Linked DNA regions of Homo sapiens: region 2 is linked to region 1. The links are contacts of gene promoters, found by promoter capture Hi-C in human tissues and cell types (Jung and others, 2019). All regions are on one chromosome and are shown on one strand. The core of a region is centred on a gene start or on the middle of the fragment in contact, and the rest is flanking DNA. Distances in the headings are between cores, read along the strand shown. Region 1 holds the start of ARL4D (ARF like GTPase 4D). Region 2 has its middle 18 kb from the start of ETV4.

Region 1 (6,006 bases), core at 2,591-5,090:
CTTTAGTGCCACCAGCTGGACAGTCAGGCCAGAGGGACTGGGGAAGAGCCTGGGACATTCAAAGGCCTCCTGTGGACCATGATCCCTGACCGCCCCCAGGGCTGGGCATGGGGAAGCAGAAGATACCTGTTTTAAGCAGGTAGGGAAGGAGTGTGGTTGGAAGAGCCAGAATCAGGAGCTGACATCTTGGAGGCCCCTCTGCTAGGGATTGGGGAACACCTCTGCACCTCTTCCCCCAAATCTGGAGACCTAAGTACACCAAGTGACAAGAAATGAAAATGTATAATTGAAGATTTTAAGACAAAAGAGCAGAATTTGGGTGGGGTGGGGAGGAAAGATCTCCTGGCAGGACAGAGGGTCAGTTCTGGCCAGTTCCTTTCCAGCCTGGACTGGGGCCTCAACCTGTCCTTGGGCTATAGGACTGTGCCCCAAAAAGACTGGGAGAGGAGTCGCAGGTGTGTCTGGGGGAGGGGCAGGTAGCACATGTTCCCAGCAGAACCAGCCCAGCAGTTCTGTCAAGCAGGCCCTAGCACTGACGCACACTTGGGCACCCTTCCGGATCAATGCACACTCACCCCAATCCTGCCAGCTACAGGGATGGGGAGGGGACCAAATCTGAGCTTCTGGCAGCGCTGGGTAGGAAGAAGCAAGTTCTTTAGGAAACCTTCCCCAGAAGTGGGGGTTGCCGGCACCTTCTCTTTCTCCCCAGGTCCTTTCATCTGATTCCGGAGAAGAGGAGACAGAATTGGGGAGAAGCAGGGTGTGAACGCTGAACCTGCTCTGGGGATTGTGTGTTTGCACAAAAGGTGGCAGGGGGTGGCTGGAGGGCTCGACAACTGGAAAGAATTGTGCTTGTTTTTTTTCTTTTTTAGAGACATGGTCTCCCTATGTTGCCCAGGCTGGTCTTGAACTCCTGGGCCCAAGCCATCCTCCTGCCTCAGCCTCCCAAAGTGCTGGGATTACAGGCGTGAGCCACTGTGCCCGGCCTTGTGCTTAGTTCTTACTCACTGCTCCCACCCAGAAGATTAAGAGGATCTAAGGGTTCTGTTATCAGACATAGCTGGCCCTGGTGCTGGTGAGTAGGGGCACTCAAGCCCTTGTAATATTAGCATTTTATTCTTACAATCACCACAAATACTGGGGGCTTATGTCTTCCCCCTTCTATCTTGGAGTCTGGAGGGTGTATGTCCAGCAGTCCTCTCTGCCACCAAGCACAAACAGCTACTACTTCTGCCCCTCTCGTGAGAAGAGCTACCATTCCCAGAGCTGGAAAACTCATGGCTTAGTCACCAGGGCCAGGCTGGCTCAATCCAGCCCAGGCCTCCCTAGCACCAGCCGCTGCCATCATGCCAGTGAGCCAGTCAGCAGGATTGAGTACACAGAGGTGACTTAAGGCCAGGGAGGAATTACTTTCCACTCTCACCACATCTTACAAGGAGGAAAAAAATCAAACCAACCTAAGACTGGGGAAGTGGGGAGGATGGGAACAGAATGGCTCTTTGAGGACTTACCTATATAGACTTAGGTGTCACCAAGGTCAAGAACCTAGGAGTAGCTCAGACTAGCAAAATTTGAAGTTAAATCTGCAAGGAGCAGTTGATATAAGGGACAAGTAAGACCCAGAGGATGAGGGGAGGGGTGTTAAATCAGAGAAAAAGGAAGTGACCCCACCCAAAAAACTACAGAGATCAGGCAATAGCTTGAGGGGTTTTCCACTCCCCCCTATAATTTTCACAAGCCATCCCGTAACACACAATCTAATTTTTATAAGTGCTTGCTTTGCAAATTCAGCTTCAAGATAAATCTCCCTCCCCCTGCGCCACAACCCCATATAGAAATCTTGAATTGTCTCTGGGGCAAGATAAGGAGAGGAAAATGCCCCAGACCAAGGTAAGAGCTACAGTTATCAGTCTTTAATAACTTACAGGCAAATGCTAAAAAATAGTTAATAACAATAATACAGAGGACACACACAGCTTATAAAAAGGGTCATGGATCTACAAATGTGGGGAGGGGTTCTTGGCACTTTCACAGACACAAAAATAAAAACTATGTGACTGGTATTCCTAGAAAAGCAGCCTGGGGAGACTCCCCAGTTGGGGGACAGAGGAAGGGGAGATAGTTATTTCATCCCAAACACATTCTCCAAGTCACTTCCATCCCCCCGCCCCCAAACACATCCAATTAAAAATTTTTAGCCAGAGAAGAAAAATAAGAAACAGGGTCGAGGTAGAGTCACAGTTTACATTTACGTCTCCACAGTCCTGCAGCGCCCACTTCTCCAGAGAGGATGAGAGAGATATGCAAAGACATCCCATCTCCCATCCCCACCCCAGTGTGGCACCAAAACGGGACACCCCATGCTCCTCTCTCCTTCATTGAGGTGGACAGGTCCTGCACCCCAGTCTGACTGAGAGGTCACAGGCTGGTCCCACCCTGCTGTCCAAGTGTGCAGACCCCTACTAGGTGGGAGGAAAGGGAGGGGGGGCTTGGGTCACCGTCTCTTCTTGCCACCCCGAGCTGCCTTCTTCCTCTTGAGGATCATCTCATAGAGGCGCTCAAGGCCCTGCTGCAGGCCCAGACCGTCCACAGCGCTGCAGCCTTGCACATGAGTGAGAGTGGCGGCTGCTAGCTCTCGGACTGCCAGCCTCTTCTCCACCTCAGCAGCGCTCAGTGCCCCGGGCTGGTCCTGCTTGTTGGCCAGCACCAGCACTGGCACGCCCTGGTTGTCCGAGGCCCGGCTGATTCGGTGCAACTCCACCTTGGCTTCCTCCAGCCGCTCAGCCTCCGCAGCGTCCACCACAAACACTAGACCGTCTGTCCGGCGGGTATAAGAGCGCCACAGTGGTCGCAGCTTCTCCTGCCCCCCGACGTCCCACACTTGGAAGGTGATGCCACGCGATCCCCCGAGGGGCACCCGGATCTTCTCGGTGTTGAAGCCTTTGGTGGGGACACTCTGGACAAACTCCTTGAACTTGAGGCGGTAAAGGAGGGAGGTCTTTCCAGCAGAGTCCAGCCCAATGACCACGACATGCAGGGCTTGGAAGTGGGGCAAGAAGGAGGAGGCAGTGGGCGCCATCTCAGTCAAGTGGTTCCCCATAGTGAGCTAAGGCGCCTAGTAGAGGCAGGGAGGCCTTGAAATTGAAGGTTCCAGGGAGCACAGCTGGGTTATCTGAACCAAGAAAAGGTCATGGGAGAAAAAGGAGACGTTTAATAATACACACAAGATTTGCAACTTCTTGATCCCTTCCTAAATCACCCTCCCATCCTTCATTTTTAAAATTCCTTTCCTTTTTTTTTTTTTTTTTAAGGCATAACAGAGGTGTTCCCCCACTCCCTGGGGGGGTCGTGAGGGGGGCGATGGGACCTAGAGAGACTCCCAGGTCCTGGGCCACTCAAGTGGGGGGTGAGGGCTCGATCCATGGACAGTGGGCTTCTAGAGCCTCTTCTCAGAGCTTATGGCGCCATCCCCCAGGCAAGATCCCCGAGGGACGGGGGAAGTCGACAGTGCCCCCAAACTAAGAGCTAGGGTGCAGACGCTGAGACCGGAGATTGAGTCCGGCTCCCACCCGCCCTCCGCAGCCCCAAGCCGTTGACACGGTGCCCTTCCTTACTCCGCGACCCTCGCCCCACCGCCCCGCGACACTCTCCTGCCCGCCCGCCCTCCTCCGATGGCCGACCCCAGCTCCAGCGGCCCGGCACCGGGACCGCCTCAGCACGGTCTGCAGGGTCCGTTTACCTCTCGTGAGCCGCGCTCTCCTCGAGCCTTTCCCGGTGAAACACCGCAGCCGCCCCGCGAGACCCCCGCAGACACCCACCGCGCCTCCAACCGCTGCCTCTGCAGAGCCTGCCTAGGGTTCGGCCTTAAAAACCCGCGTGTGACGTCACAAGGCGCGGGACAATCAGCGGCGGCGGGGCGGAGCGTGGAGCTACGGGCGCTGCAGCCCCCACCATACGCGGAGGGGCGTTTGCTTAATCCGTGGCTGCTCTATTTGACCTTTTCTACCACACTCTAATATTTGGAATTAAACTTGGAATTAATGCAGAATGGAGGGTGGGAGGGGCGAAAGGAACGTGCCTGGCAACGTTTGACTCGGGAGGAAAGATATGAATACCCTAATATTCTCACTACCATCGCATCCCCCTCCACCAGGCCGAGATACCACCCCACATGGACACTCCTTCGGCCAAAGGATCTACTCGGAGAGGCTGACAAGTCTTTCTCCTTTATCTTTCATAATTCAATTGTCAAACCTAAGGTGAACCTGGAGCCCCATAAAACAGCTGCTTCATAGTGCTAAGCCCATTATCTGCAATAGCCTGTTAGGGACTGTTGTCTGCCTTTTACAGATACACAAAGCCCTGAAGGGTTAAATGACCTATTTGAGGTTACACTCAACAGTATGTTTAGGCGCAGTGGATCATACCTGTAAACTCAGCACTTTGGGAGGCTGAGGCAGGCACATCACTTAAGCTCAGGAGTTCCACCAGCCTGGACAACAGGGTGAAACCCCATCAGTAATAAAAAGACAAAAATTAGCCGGGCGTGGTGGCGGGTGCCTGTAATCCCAGCTACTCGGGAGGCTGAGGCAGGAGAATCGCTTGAACCCGGGAGGCGGAGGTTGCAGTAAGCTGAGATAGCGCCACTGCATTCCAGCCTGGGCGACAGAGCAAGACTCTGTCTCAAAACAAAGCAAACAAAAAAAAAAAACCAGTGTGTTTATTGGGCTGGGCACGGTAGCTCACGCCTGTAATACCAGCATTTTGGGAGGCCGATGTGGGCGAAGCACCTGAGGTCAGGAGTTCGAGACCAGCCTGGCCAACATGGTGAAACCCCGTCTCTACTAAAAATACAAAAATTAGCTGGGTGTGGTGGCGGGCGCCTGTAATTGCAACTATTCGGGAGGCTGAGGCAGGAGAATCACTTGAACCCGGGAGGCGGAGGTTGCAGTGAGCTGAGATCACACCATTGCACTCCAGCCTGGGCAACAGAGCAAGACTCTGTCTCAAAAAAAACAAAAACAAAACAAAACAAAACAAAAAACACTGTGTTTATTGACCTCATTCATACTGTGTGCTCTGAATGAGACAGAGAGATGGTGGAGAAATAGAGGATGTCTCGGCTGTAGAATCAGGCCTCAAAGGGCTTAAGACTTAAGACTGGCAATGACAGAATGAGACAGCACATGTATTGGGTCTTTGTAAATCATGAGATAGCACTTGTAGGATTTCAGAGAAGAGAGAGAATGTGTCAACTGGAAGCTTCTGAAAAGGTTTATAGACGTTCTTTAGCCCTATCTAGGACTGGTTAGGAGGGGCACAGGAATGAGTAGGGTCTCCCCAGCCACTGCAGCCTGCTACAGTCTGGGCAGCCCTGAAAGGAAGGAGATGTCACAAAGGGCAGTGTGACCAAAAGGACAACAGCAATTAGGTGGGGGAGAGAAGAGGGCCAATCAAAGAAGAATGAAATTGTAAATTGTAACTTTATCTATTTATTTATTTATTTATTTATTTATTTATTTTTGAGACAGAGTTTTGCTCTTGTTACCCAGGCTGGTGTCCAATGGTGCGATCTCGGCTCACTGCAACCTCCACCTCCCAGGTTCAAGCAATTCTCCTGCCTCAGCCTCCCGAGTAGCTGGGATTATAGGCATGTGCCACCACGCCCGGCTAATTTTGTACTTTTAGTACAGACAGGATTTCTCCATGTTGGTCAGGCTGGTCTCGAACTCCCGATCTCAGGTGATCCGCCCGCCTCGACCTCCCAAAGTGTTGGGATTTACAGGCGTGGATTATTTTATTTATTGTGTAATTCAGTATTAATCTTTTTAAGGGCTATGTGTGAGAGGGATTGGAAAAAGGAGAAGGGAAGTCATTGCCAGACAGCACGGCCCAGCCTTTTCCTGCCCACCCTCCTCAATCAAGTGCTGATAAATAAGCTTCCCATCTGTTTGTCACCAGTGTGCTTTGCCACCTCCTTTTTCTCCCCTCCACTACAAAACCAGC
Region 2 (6,006 bases), core at 2,588-5,087, 160 kb before region 1:
TCGGCCTCCCAAAGTGCTGGGATTACAGGCATGAGCCACTGCGCCCGGCTGGGGCTACTTCTATGTACATTTTATTGGATTAGAACATCTGCCTAGAAATGTACCCAGTGTAGGTCTGATGCCTTTTCACGAAGTCCATTCCCAGATCAAGAGACAGAACGTTTCCTCAACCCCAGAAGCCTCCATGTGTCTCCTTCCAGAGGTAACCACTCTCCTGGCTTCTTTATTTATTTATTTATTTTTGAGATGGAGTATTGCTCTGTTGCCCAGGGTGGAGTGCAATGGCGCGATCTCGGCTGGCTGCAACCTCTGCCTTCCAGGTTCAAGCGATTCTCCTGCCTCAGCCTCCCGAGTAGCTGGGATTACAGGCACCCACCATCAAGCTCAGCTAATTTTTGTACTTTTGTAGAGACAGGGTCTCACCATGTAGGCCAGGCTGGTCTTGAACTCCTGACCTCAGGTGATCTGCCTGCCTCAGTCTCCCAAAATGCTGGGATTATAGGCATGAGCCACCGTGCCCCGCCCACTCTCCTGGCTTCTAATAATAATAGCACAGATTAGCTTTGCCTGGATTTGAACTTTATATAAATGTAACTAGAGGTGCACTTGGATGACCCATAATGACATCCACATCAGGAAATTCAGCACACTGCTGCTGCAGGAAACAAGAGCATAGAGGAGCTCTAGTCTCTCTAGAAGCCAGACTTTGTGCTGCAAGATGTGGGCCCTGGAAAAAGGGATGTCATGTACAACTTAGACTCTTTCCTTCTTGAGCATTTGTTCAAAGTGGATTGAGACTCAGGAGATCCAGATGAGAGGCCCAGTTCTGCCGTGAACTCCCTGGTAAACCTGGATAAGTCACTTTGCCCCTCATCTGTACAACAGGGGTGAGAATGATAATAACTGAGGTTTCTTGAGCACTTGCTATGTGCCAAGGACTGCTCCAACTCATTTATCCTCTAGACCAGGGGTCAGCAGTTATGGCCTCCTACCTGTTTGTGTACAGCCTGCAAGTTGAGAATCATTCTTACATTTTTAAAAGGTTTGAAAAAAAAAATCAAAAGAATAATACTTCACAGCTGGGCGTGGTGGCTCAACCTGTAATCCCAGCACTTTAGGAAGCCTAGGTGGGAGAATCCCTTGAGGCTAGGAGTCGAGACCAGCCTGGGCAATGTAGCAAGACCTCTGTCTCAACAAAAAATTAAAAAATTATCCAGGTGTGATGGCATGTGCCTGTAGCCCTAGCTACTTGGGAAGCTGAGGCAGGAGGATCACTTGAGCCCAAGAGTTCCAGCCAGCAGTGAGCATGATGGTGCCACTGTGCTCTAGTCTGGGCAACAGAGTGAGGCCCTGTCTCTCTCTTTTTTTTTTCTTTGAGACGGAGTCTCGCTCTGTCACCCAGGCTGGAGTGCAGTGGTGCGATCTCAGCTCACCGCAACCTCTGCCTCCCGGGTTCAAGCTATTCTCCTCCCTCAGCCTCCCAAGTAACTGACACTATAGGCCTGTGCCACCACACCTGGCTAATTTTTGTATTTTCAGTAGAGATGGATTTTCACCATGTTGGCCAGGCTGGTCTCAAACTCCTTACCTCAAGTGATCTGCCCACCTTGGCCTCCCAAAGTGTTCGGATTACAGACGTGAGCCACCATACCCGGCTGACCCTATTTCTAAAAAAATAAATAAATAAACAAATATTGGGTACTGGGCTTAGTACCTAGGTGATGAAATAATCTGTACAACAAAACCCCGTGACACAAGTTTACCTATATAACAAACCTGCACATGTACCCCTGAACCTAAAAGTTAAAAAAAGGAATAATACTTTGTGACATATGAAAATTACATGAAATTCAAATGTCCGTGTCCATAAATAAAATTTTGTTGGAACACAGTCATGCTCATTCATTTACATCTATGGCTGCTTCCAGAGTAGGTATGACAGAGACCTTATGGCCCTCAAAGGCTAAAATATTTACCACCTGACCTTCTATAGAAAAAGGTGGCTGGGCCGGGCACAGTGGGTCGTGCCTGTAATCCCAGCACTTTAGGAGGCTAAGGCGGGTGGATCACCTGAGGTTAGGAGTTCAAGACCAGCCTGGCCAACATAGTGAAACCCTATCTCCACTAAAAGTACAAAAATTAGCTGGGCGCAGTGGCGGGCACCTGTAATCCCAGCTACTCCGAAGGCTGAGGCAGGAGAATCACTTGAACCCAGGAGGCGGAGGTTGCAGTGAGCCAAGATCGCACCATTGGACTCCAGCCTGGGTGACAGGAGCGAAACTCTGTCTCAAAAAAGAAAAGAGAAGAAAAAGGTGGCTGACCCCTTCTCTAAACTGTGTTCTAACTCCCCTCTCACTCTAGACATTCTTTTTATCATCCCCATGGCCCAGATGCAGAGAGGTTAGATCACCTGCCAGGGAAACCCATCTTGGGGTGGTAGCAGGCGGGCTGGCTCCAGTTCACTCCCTCCAGGAAACACCCTATGTGAGGCTCTCTGAGGTGGTAGACATGGCATTGCTTTGCAAACTGCAGAGAAGTTTACAAATGCTAGATCTGTACCTCCCTTTCCTCCTGGTAGGCATCAGTGACTGAATCTACACTCACTCCCCAGATCAAAATGCCCCAACACCCTACACATACCACACCCAGCCCAAAGACCTCCTGATATGATTAATTAGCACTTTTTCTACAAGCTTCTACTTCGGAAGGAGAGGGTTGAGTCTACCATACTCTCCGTTCATGGCCTGTTGTCATAACTGGTCTGTGTAGTGCCCTGCTCTTGGTTTCATTCATTCATACATTCCCTTTTTTTTTTTTTTTTTTTTTGAGACAGGGTCTTCTCTGTCACCCAGGCTGGAGTGAACTGGTGAGATCAGAGTTCACTGCAGCCTTGACCTCATGGGCTCAAGCAATCCTCTCACCTCAGCCTCCTAACTTGCTGGGACTACAAGGACATGCCACTGTAATTTTTTTCATTTTTTTGTAGAGATGGGGTCTCACTGTGTTGTCCAGGCTGGTCTTGAACTCCTGGGCTCAAGCGATCACCCCACCTCAGCATCCCAAAGTGCTGGGATTATAGGCATGAGCCACTGCACCCAATCTGTTTGCTGAGTTCTTTCAGGATGGGTAGTTATTTCGTAGGCATGGGGTTTATTTACATAAATAGCATTGTGTTATATATTTTGTTTCCTACAATTTTTTTCCTCTACAACATTTGTTTGCTCTTTCCTTTCCTGTTGAGGTATAACATATATACGGTAAAGTGAGTAATGTGCACTGATCTGAAATATGAAACTCGATTTTTAGCCTACATATACATCTGTGTAATCATCACCGAGATCAAAATATAGAACATTTCCAGTACCCCAGCCAAGTTTCCCTTGTGTCCCTTCACAGTCAATAAACTGCCCCCTTCCCTGCCTGAGGTACCCACTCTTCCAGCTCCCATCTCCACCCATTCATTGAATTTTTTCTTGAACTTCCTCTGCATGGAATCGTACCTGTCTTTCATGTCTTGCTTCTTTTGCTCAACTTGTCTGGGAGACTCCCCTATGTCGTTGCGGGTAGAGAGAATTTGTATTTTTTGCTGTTGCGGAGCACTACGTTTTTGAGATCTATCGCGGGGCTCTGTGTACAGGCGTCAGTGCTTCTTGCTGCTACCTGGCGCCCCTTGGTGCTTCCACCCACTTGACCTTTCCACTCTCCCAGTGAGGGACACCCAGGGTGCCTCCTATGAGGCTGCTCTGATCATCCTCATCCACATCTCCTTATGGAGCCGTGTGAACATTTCACTGGATGAATACCTAGGAAAAGAATCTTTTGGGCACAGGGAATTGACTGCCCCAGCAACTGACAAACTGCTGAAATTGACTAGCTCTTTTCCATGTCTACCAAGGCAGGAGCAGGGAGAAGGGAAGAAGAGCTGCTGCTTTGGTGATCCTCCTCTGACCCCACTCTCCCCTCCCCCTTGCCCTCCAGGAAAACCTTTCAGCTCCCCCACCTCTTCTTCTTGCAGGACCCAACTAAGCGCTTTGCTTCCTGAATGTCGCTGCCTCCGCAGCAGCCCGCACCATCCTGCTGCATTATAACAGGACGATAATCAATGAACTGCTAACTCTATTGCAATAAAGGAGCGAGCCCAACCTTATATAATTCTTTTTAATTGTTTTCTCACATTACAAGGTTTTTTTTTTTTTTTGGCTAAACTTATTCCGCCGTAAGTTATGTCGTTTAATTTCTCAAAGTGCTAATAATTTAATTGCTTCCTTCCTGCAGACAAAGTGCCTGAACTGTCCTCCCTCCCCGGCACGGAGATTATAAAACGGAGTTGGCAGGAATACCTAAGAGGAGAGTCTTTTTGGCGGCAGGATTTGATGGGAAGCAGCTTTCTCAGAAGTCAGTGTGTGAGGCTGGGAACCTGGCTTGGGACTTCAAAGGGGCATGGGGCCCAGCCAAGCCTGCCTAACTCGAGAGGGTTTATGATAATCACAGGGGAGGGGAAAGGGAAGAGCTGAGATTAGAGAGGCTGGACGAGGGTGGGGAACACTAAACATGGAGCTTCCCGTCCTGAAAGGCTGTCAGGGAAGCTGGGCTCCATCTGCAGCAGAGGGATTTAGATCAGACTGGTAGGCGGAGTGGGGGCATTCCTGAGAGTCAGGACTTCGAGATGCTGACTGGACCCGGGACAGGGTGGGGAGGTAACATCTGATAACAGGAACTAGCCTTTATTGATCCCTTACTGAAAGCCTGAGCTTCCCTAGAGCATCTCAATTTACCTGCACACCCAGGTCTCTGAGGCAGGTACTACTAGTATTGCCGTTTTACAGATGAGGAAACTGAGGCATAGAAAGGTTCCAGGCCCCATAGCTTGTTGGTGAATGATGAGTTGAGTGATGGCATCACATCTTATGTGGCAAAAGGGGGACAGGATCAGGGATGAGCGACTCTTGAAGATTCCAAGGCAGTGACCTCCTTCCTCTTGCCTAGGGTCTGATTCAGTCAGAATTGCTTTAACCTACCCATGCTCCGCCACCCTGCCCCCGACCCCAGTGACTCCCATGATCTATAGGATATAATACAAGCTCCTAAACAAGGTCTTCAAAATGCTCACACTCCCTAGCCTGAGGGTAGGAATTTTGAGGACTACCCCCAAATTTGTCTCTCCCCTAGGATTTCCTTTCTGGCTCCTACACCTTGGCAAATGCTGCTTCTTTAAACCTGGAACCTTCTCCCCTCTCCTAGGAAGAAATTTCATTCATCCCATGAGGACTGGCTCAAATGCTGCCTCCCCACTTCCCCAAGCAGAGCCCCTCTCTCAAATCCCTGGGACACTCAGAGCACACCTCTGCTGGAGAGAGATCTGATTTGCAGGGTTGCTGGCCTGAGCTTACTCATTGACTCCCCTTGCTATTCACTAGCTCTGTGACTTTGGGAAACTTTCTTTTCTTTCTTTTTTTTTTTTTTTTTTTTGAGAAGGAGTTTCGCTCTTGTTGCCCAGGCTGAAGTGCAATGGTGCCATCTCAGCTCACCACAACCTCCGCCTCCCAGGTTCAAGCGATTCTTCTGCCTCAGCCTCCCGAGTAGCTGGGACTATAAGCATGCGCCACCACGCCTGGCGAATTTTGTATTTTTAGTAGAGACAGGGTTTCTCCATGTTGGCCAGGATGGTCTCGAACTCCTGACCTCAGTTTATTCACCCACCTCGGCCTCCCAAAGTGCTGGGATTACAGGCGTGAGCCACTGCGCCCAGACACTTAGAAACTTTCTAACAGAGAAGTTAGAAAGAAACTTCTCTACGCTGTACACATATATGATGTGGAATAAATGAGTAGCACATGCAAAACATTTAGCCTGGCACATGATGAACGATGAAAGATTTGCTGTTGTTCTTGACTGTCGTTGACCCTGTATTCTCATCTCCTAACACAGTGCCTGGCATGTAGCAATTGCTCAATAAATGAATAAAATGGAAATAATTACTAACTACCTCCTCCCTCTACCCCAGCC

What was found. The method cuts DNA at HindIII sites, captures the fragments that hold promoters and counts their contacts. A contact is called where the count stands out against the background at its distance.
Region 2: a contact is called between a fragment that was not itself captured here and the fragment with the promoter of ARL4D in region 1, in 1 of the 25 tissues and cell types used here (spleen).

The regions. Positions count from the first base shown.
Region 1 is chr17:43,396,827-43,402,832 of GRCh38, reverse strand. It overlaps ARL4D (ARF like GTPase 4D), which reads right to left and starts at 3,840. Exons shown (of 2, transcript NM_001661.4): 1 at 3,740-3,840; 2 at 1,696-3,172. The coding sequence starts at 3,100. The coding sequence ends at 2,495. RefSeq lists an enhancer at 3,213-3,716. The HindIII fragment of the contact is 9,238 bases long and covers 1-5,601 here.
Region 2 is chr17:43,561,427-43,567,432 of GRCh38, reverse strand. No RefSeq gene overlaps it. Among named protein-coding and RNA genes, the nearest start is that of ETV4, 18 kb to the right of the region's middle. The HindIII fragment of the contact is 6,893 bases long and covers 391-6,006 here.